Linked DNA regions of Homo sapiens: region 1 is linked to region 2. Evidence: promoter capture Hi-C in 16 types of primary human blood cells and fetal thymus (Javierre and others, 2016). All regions are on one chromosome and are shown on one strand. The core of a region is centred on a gene start or on the middle of the fragment in contact, and the rest is flanking DNA. Distances in the headings are between cores, read along the strand shown. Region 1 has its middle 220 kb from the start of RXFP2. Region 2 holds the start of RXFP2 (relaxin family peptide receptor 2).

The links. Contacts are between HindIII fragments. The CHiCAGO score rates a contact against its expected background, and 5 or more counts as called.
Region 1: a contact is called between a fragment that was not itself captured here and the fragment with the promoter of RXFP2 in region 2, in 1 of 17 cell types (endothelial precursors). The highest score is 5.5, in endothelial precursors.

Annotation. Positions count from the first base shown.
Region 1 is chr13:31,516,834-31,521,269 of GRCh38, reverse strand. No RefSeq gene overlaps it. Among named protein-coding and RNA genes, the nearest start is that of RXFP2, 220 kb to the left of the region's middle. The HindIII fragment of the contact is 1,613 bases long and covers 1,471-3,083 here.
Region 2 is chr13:31,737,809-31,741,935 of GRCh38, reverse strand. It overlaps RXFP2 (relaxin family peptide receptor 2), which reads right to left and starts at 2,410. Exons shown (of 18, transcript NM_130806.5): 1 at 2,230-2,410. The coding sequence starts at 2,323. The HindIII fragment of the contact is 9,597 bases long and covers 1-4,043 here.

The DNA of each region.
Region 1 (4,436 bases), core at 1,028-3,527, 220 kb after region 2:
TTTCTCCCCTTTTTAATGCCAATATATGTTTTGAATAATATTCTCCATTCTAAATAGCACACATGTGCTAAAGAACGCAAATTCAGCAGTGAAGATTAAACTTGATGCAGAAAATAAGAACAAGGTGAGAAATGCAGTTTATCATGACATTCATTTATTTTCCTATTTTGTTAAACTAAAAAAGCACTGCACAGGGAGCATATTTAAGCAATGATCTTGCTAGAGATCATTTTGGAACCCACTTTTTAAAGCCCTCTAAATTTCTTAAGATTCATAAGGCAACAGGGATGATATTACATATGTGATGTTATGTCTCTATCAAGAAAGAGCAATGATTAGCAAATACAAAAGAACTGTGTATAGTTGTGTTTTTAAGAGTATTTATTAGTTAGCACGGAAAAGACCATATGTCTTTTGGCAGGAGGTGAGATAATAATTAAAGAGTCAACTCAAGTAACTGGAGAAAAAAAGTAAAAACAAAAACAAAACTGGAAAAGAGAAATTAAAATTTTAAGTTGAAAAGAATTAGAAAACTGAAAATAGTGAAATACATAGAACCAGAAACTGATTTTTAAAAAATCTTCTTAAAATAATAAAATTTCTAGCAAACAATAACAAACACAAACACAACAGCAAACAAAATTTAAGAGATGAGAAAACAAAACCAATCCAGAGATGATGAACAGAAAACAAATGGAGATTCTGTGGTTAAATTTTCCAAGCCATGGGCAATAGTGTACGTGCATATTAAATAAAGAGATTAAAACCCAAGCTGATCTGTTATATCAGTGGAGCCGGTAGCCCTGATATAAGGCATGTCTAGAATTCTCTCCAAGGAGTAGAGTCTCTAAATATGGTAAATAAATAAAGGTCTGTACGTTTCCATAGTCCTCTGCAAAAGGAGAAGTTGCAGAATACTTTCTAATGCCCTCTGATGTTTTACACTTTATAAAATATTTTTGAGTATATTGTGTTATTTTATATTTAAAACAAAACAAACAAAACCCTAAGGCGTAGGTGTTATTATCACCCTCACATTTTATAGTTGAACAGTCATGAAAACTCAGGGTCAAAAAGAAGACGTCAATTTCCCAAAGACACACGGCTGGTAAATGGTATGGGCAGGACTTGGGTCAAAGTTCTTGCTATCTGCTTTGGGAATAGACCACATTCCTCCCCTGCCTTGCTCCAGTGTCACCTGGAGAGCAATTTACAAACCTCAGTTGCAAGGATTTTTTTTTTATTACAGAGTAAAGTGTGTGTACTCTTAATAGTCTATAAATTAAGCAGATGGTTGAACATGGAACAAGAGAAAAGTTATTTCCAGAGAGAAACTACTTAATATAGTTTGCAGAGGCAGGATCTTTAATAAAGGATAGGTCCTCAGAAAAGCACTAATCAAGCTGATTGGTAAGGGGCAGTGAAGCAACATCAGGCCCCAAATCCTTCAGAAAATGTGTGGCAAAAGCTTGACCCCAAGTGTCAGCATTTCAAGTTCTTAGGGGATGGCGAAGGGCTTAAGAATTGATTTAGCATTTATTGAGGTGACCACAGGACCCCTACGTTGCCTGGATTTTTTAACCATTCATTAATCTGGAACAGTAAAACAACAACTATTTGGTGGTGCTGGGCCTCATGAGCATAGGAGAGCCCTATCACCATGGCCTTAGGAAAACCCTTAGCAAAGAGGAAGGATGGTGTTACATTTCCACTGCAGCTGTGAGCAGAAAATAGGAGGATATATGACTGACAAGTTTAGTGAAACAAGAAGGCTTTCAAAGACATACAAAAAAAAAAAAAAAAGAAGAAGAAGAAGAAGAAGAAGAAGAAGTCCAGATTTGGAAATGCCAGCAGCAGAGCTGGGGAAGAGAGGCATCAATCACCAGCATCCGTGGCCAGCCAGTCAGCTGAGCCAAAGGAGAAGGCAACGGTCTCTCTGGACCTTTCTGTTTTGTTGGGGGAAGGAGTTGTTGCAGAAAGTAACTGAGAAGACACTAGAGGGTTAAAGGATTTCTGGAGTGTGTAGTCCATGTATAAGTTCACTTCACATGGTCACATGAAACCAAAGCAGATGACCAAAGACCTCCCCGAGCACTGATTAGTTACAACAGTGCAGGGGGAAAAACTAAAGTTTAAAAAATTGAATGTTTTCTTTTGATAAAAATTTCAGGATGTTAGAGAAGAAAATTGTACTGACTGTCAAAAACTTTTCCAAATATAGCTCCAAGTGCTGAGCAAGCTGCAGGGTGCAGTTAGTTTAAGCCACTCAGAAAGTGAATTAGCTTTAAACTTCATAGGTCAAGAGGAAACCTTTATTTCATGTCAACTGAGATGTTCGTGAGAGTAATGAACATGATGGAAACTGTAGCTGAGATTGAGCCATGTGTGGAATGTTAACAGGACCAGAGCGAGGGCAAGCAGCCCGGTTCCTGTAAAGGCATGCAACCAAAATCCTTTGTATTTTCCTCAATACGTTCCATTTTCCCCTTAACTTTGGTACTTTGGTCTGGTAAGTGTGGGAGCCATTATGCAATTAGCTTGTCAGTGGCCTAATGTTTCCATATAAGTTAATTCAACTGTTATAACAAAGCATATTTCTTTGGGGGAGTGGCAAGCAAGATGTATGAGTATGCTCCCTTCCTCATGTAGCTTCCCAGCTTTCCTCAGATTCCACTGATCCAATTCCTTCTGAGTCTTTCGGCTACATGTTGGCTACATCTCCACTCGGGTAAAATAGCTAAAGTCATTCCCCAAAGCTGGTTCCTACCACAGAGGATGCATCAAGAAAGGGCAATTTCTCCCATTGGTTATTTAATTCTGCTGATGGGTTTAGCTTCTTCACTTTCATATCTTATTTCAGCCAGATTTTTGAAAACTGTGAGAAAAATAATACGAAAAGCAAATATATAGGATAATAATCTCAGTGGTAGTTTGCTTAACATTTTCTGTAACATAATAAACCTTAAAAATGGATTCAAGTAGAAAACCTGGATAGACCAATAAATACGAAGGGATTCAGAAAATCATCAAAGAAAGTACAAGCAAAAGGCCCTGGGCGCAGAGGATTTCATGGTCTTTAAGCTTTCAAGGGACAGATGATTCCCTTTAAATTCTAAGTATAGGAAAAAAAACCAGATAATTTTCCAAAAGTAGGACAATCTTTATTATAAAAAAAAGAAAAGTATAGGCCAAGCTTATTTATTAATTTATATATACAAAATTCTAAACATATGACTAAAAAATAAAATTAGAGAATATATTAAAATAATAATCTGCCATGATCAAGAAGATTTTAGGAAGACTAAAATACATTAATATTAAGAAAGCTAATGAAATAAAGCATCACCTTGATACACCAAAAAAGAAGAAAAAAAAGAATCATCTCATAGATGTCAAAAAGGCATTCAATATCATTTTTACCATTGCTGACTTAAATGATTTATTTTATTATTATTTTATTTATCTATCTATTTATTTATTTATTTATTTATTTATTTATTTATTTATTTATTTATTTTTTGAGAAGAAGTCTTGCTCTGTAGCCCAGGCTAGCATGCAGTGATATCATCTCAGCTCACTGCAACTTTCGCCTGTTGGGTTCAAGCGAATCTCCTGCCTCAGCCTTCCAAGTAGCTGGGATTACAGGCATGTGTCACCATGGCCGAATTTTGTAGTTTTAGTAGAGGTGGGGTTTCGCCATGTTAGTCAAGTTGGTCTCGAACTCCTGATGTGAGGTAATTCTCCTGCCTCGGTCTCCCAAAGTGCTAGGATTACAGGCAAGAGCCACCACGCCTGGCCTTAAGTGATTTATTTTAAATATAATTTTGGAAGTGTGTTAGCTATCTATTGCTGCATAGTAAATTACCCCCAAATTAGCAGTTTAAAACAATAAGCGTTTATTATCTCACAGATATTTTGTAAGTTAGGAATTCAGGAGTGGCTTCGCTGGATGAATCTGACTCAAGGTCTTTTATGAGTTTGCAATCAAAATATCAACCAGGGAAGCAGTCATCTGAAGGCTACAATGGGGCCAGAGTAACTGCTTCCAAGCTGACTTACTCATATAGCTAGCAAGTTAGAGCTGGCTGTTTGATGGGAGGCCTCAGTTTCTCACCATTATAGGGCTGCTTGAGTGTTTTCACAACATGGCAGCTGGCTTTTCCCCCTGAGTGAGTAATCAGGGGAAAATTTCCAGGCAGAGACTGCAATGTCTTTTATGAACCAGCCCCAGAAGTCACCAAACTTTATGTCCATAATATTGTTACATACGTCAGCCTTATTCACTATGAGAGGAGACTACACAAAAGTGTGACTACCAGAAGGTAAGAATCATTATAGACATTTTGGAGGCTGAGTATCTCTGACAGATTCTCATATAATACAAATAACATCTATCTTAAGCCATAGACAACATCATACTTAAAATAGAAATGCTA
Region 2 (4,127 bases), core at 1,161-3,660:
CAACAGGTTGAAATTCCACAAAACACAATTGGTAGTTACCAAGTAGCAGTCTCAATACTTCATGCTTTTAATTTCCTACATAAGCCCATGTTTTTGATATGTAATATGGTTCCTAATTTGTCCATTAAGAAATGTTTTTTAAAAAGTAGTTTGAAGCTGGTTAACAGAGATACACAGTGAATAAATTAATGATAAAACACACGTAATAATAATAAGATACATTATGCATAGTTGTCTGTTAGTGCCTGTAGCTTAAGGCAATCACTCATTCCTTAGGCACTCCAGAGTGATGATGGTCAGAGAAGAAAAGACGATCACATAATTTCTAATTTTATGTTTTGTTTAGATCTGGCCTAAGAGTCTATCACAAATATTATTTAAATTAAAAAGACAACCTTTACTCTTAGGCAACTCTAAATGAGCTTTCTTTGGTTACTATGAAAAGCCTTACCGTTTTAATTGTCCACAATTTTGTTGTGAAAAAGAAAAGAGTTTTACTAATTATAGAGCAAATTCTATTATTTTTATAAGTAGGAATAAAATGTCAAAGCATTGATTAATGTGTCTTGCTTTGAAAAGAAATCATTTTAAACATAAAGGTTTAAATTAGTAGTCAAAAGTAATATAAAATTAGAAAATAAAAATTTCCAGGATTATAATCAATAAATATTTGTTAGGTTGGTACTAGGAGTTTGAAATATGGCTTTTACTTAGAAATAAAATCAAACAAAAATTATTAATTGAACTTTTTTTTAGTTTAAAGGGTGACTTTACATTATGGTAAATCACAAAATGTTATTTTAGTAATAGATGTTTTTCATCTCATAAACGGTTTAAGCAAAATCAATTAAATGCATTATGTATAAAAGCAAAAGTATAGTAAAATTGGTTAAACTGTGGTTATAGTCCCGTACATTAAAGAACTTTTTAAGGGCACAGATGAGCTCTATGACATGTCTTAAGAACCTGCTTTGTAGCTGTATATTCTTAAAATTGTATAAAATTGAATATTCAAATGTGGATAGAACATGAACTTCTGAAGTAGGACCTTAAATATAGAAATAGACTGCTTGTTGCAACTGTACTGCATGCAAGGTGAGTTCATATATTGTTTCTTCTTAGTTAATCCTTAGCTTTTCATGTAAGAGATATTAAAATATAAAATAAAAGTCATGCTAGGTGCATGGAGATATAGATTTTAAATATTTGTAGTAAAGTTTTAGTATTATTTTAAATTCAAAATAAAATTTAGATATTTTAAGCCTTTTAAAAATCTTTTGTTTGTTAGAAGTTTTAAAATAATTCCTCATAAGTATTGCATTTTATTTCAAGATTTAAAATATTCACTTGGAATTCACCTAATAAAACTGAATATTTAAAAAACCTAAAACGAATTTCTCAGAAAATAAAAATAATTTCAAATTTTAACCTTTATTCTCAGAGGTTTATCAAAATTCTTTAAGAAAAAATACAAATTAAAATAGAAACATTTTTGAATAATAATAAACCCCAGCAAATCTTGGGTGTGGTTAATAGGTTGTTTATGAATGTATAGGCTGACAACGTATCTTTTTATTTAAAAACAAGTGAAGATTTAGGTTTTATTTTTTGGTGAGCTTTACAATGAAAATGGTACTGACTTGAAACTTAAGAGTTTGACTGAAATAAAAATTTCCACAAATTAAAAACAAAAGAAAATTATCTAAGTAAATGCACTTGTATAGACTTTTAATAACTTTATTTTAGAGAGGTTTACTCTTAGAGACAGATACTGTTTTTTAGATCTGCCTGTGGCTTTGGAGTTCCCAGTTTAATTATGTTCACGCAAGATAGTTACTAATAATTACTTGAATTTTATGGGCATATTTCAACAGGTTGAAATTCCACAAAACACAATTTTAGTTTATTAATTTGTCACACTTTTCAGAACAAATGCCAAAAATGTTTTCTATGTTTTAATTGATATAGTCAACATTGTTTTTTGACATATTTTATCTACAGCTTTAATAACATACAAAGGCTTGTTTCCATGAAAAATTTGTTGCATCTAAAAATTACTAGGCTGTGTGGGACTACAAGCAATGAAAGATAATGACAAATACCAGGCAAATTTGATGTCTGTTTTTTTTTTAAACACCCCAATATATTTATTACAACTGCCATAGAACTACATAGAAATGTATTTTTTGGGAATTGCACTCATTTAAAACGAGAAAGTAGCAACCTTACCTTTGACATTGATCAGAACGATGAAATGAAGTAGAAAGAACATTGTAATCAATCTGAGGCTGAAGAGATGTTTAAAAACCAGAAAAACAATCATAGGTTTACAGCAATTGAGTTATTAGACGTATCCTCTTATACCTCAGCAGGAGTTCTGATGTAGTAAGTTCAGTGCCTCCCATGTTCTGAGCATGCTCACAGCTAGAACCTCACTGGCATGAAGGGAGATGGATTCTTGTCACTATGCAGCCTGTCTTTTTTGTTCTTTCTTTTTTGTTTCTTTTAGTTTAAATCTACAGTTGTGTTCTTGATCACTAATTCATTATGGTGTGTAAAAGAAGGTATAATAGGACTTTGGTATTATCTGATAAGAAATATTTTTTAATCACTTAAAAATTTTTTTCCTCCAAAGCATGTACAATTTGCTCTGTTTAAATCCAAACATCGAAGTTCTCAAATATGAAGGATATAGGCTTACACTGAATAGGCTATGAAACCCTTTACAATTATATTTTCATGCAATAAACAAATGTAAAAAACTACTTATTGACAGATACACAAAGAACACCCACTTCTATTCAAATGTACCTAAATGTTTTCAAATGACATATGAAAAGATAATTTAAATATATGGCATTGTGTTAAATAATTACTGTAAAACATTCATACAATATTTTCACTTCACATACTTCCCGCATAATCATATTCCTTTTTCTTGAAGTGAATAATTTTATTCTTGCTTCCAGCTCTGTATTGCACACCTATTAGAAAACACTAATTATAATTTAGTTCTTACATCCTGAAAGCAGCTTTCTCAACAGCATAGTTAGTACAAGTTAAAAGTATAAAAATTGACTTTTGGTTGTAGGATTCTGTTGATCCTAGTGTAATCATTAAGACTTCTCCAAAAAGATGTAGAATTTCCATGTCTGAGTTTATATTTTACTAACAGGGAAATATCTATCTAGAATACAGTTTGTAGTTCTGATTTGAAGAGAAGATTTTGTGACTGAACGATGCAGATTCTCTTATATGTTGTCGTTAACTGTGTCCTAACAACACTGAAAAAAACTACCTTGTGGTGACTATTATCGTCACAAATCATAAAACACGGGGTTTTCCTTGTTCTTTCTTTCATTCTAGCCTTTGAGAGAACAAGGATTCAAACAGAATGTACAATAAAAAATACTTTATTTATCACATAATGTATTTAGTTCTTTTCTCTTTTTAAGAAGTGAGTTAAGTTCTCTAAGACACCTCCCAGACATATTTATATGTGGTCTCATCTGATCTTTCAAATCAAAAGAAAAAGCAACAGAGAGAATAAAGATGAAAAGAAATACTTCAGGATCTTTTCTTACATTTCAAGCATCTTTTTTTCCCTCACTAACCTCAAGGTCTTTTTAGGTAAAAATTGCCTTATTTCACTTAAAGGAATGATTAGTTTTTCTTACGTTTTGTGTTTTGCTGTCGAGATGATGGATGCTAGTTTCTGGTACTGAAATTTTGAGCATGAGTTTTTAAGTGCAATTAAATACCATCATAAGTCTATTTGAAGTATAAATATATTTTCTATGAAAATGTAATTTTTGGAGAAATAAGAAATGTCAAGATGTCAAAGAAATTAGTTAAGATTTATTCATGATATCGAGCCCTAGCAATAGATTTACATTGCCAAAAAGTTGAATCGTTATTCCTTTCTGTTAGGCTTTTCAATGTTAATCTTTGAAATGTATTAACACAAACTTTCAGAAATCAATAATTATAAATAATAGGAACATCTTTGGCTCACTGGTTTTTAAAGGTAGAGCATGCAAGCTTTGAAATACCATTTCATTTAATATGTTTTAACTTTGACTTATCTGGTGTGAATATCCAGCCTTTTGCACCGAAACTGAAATGAT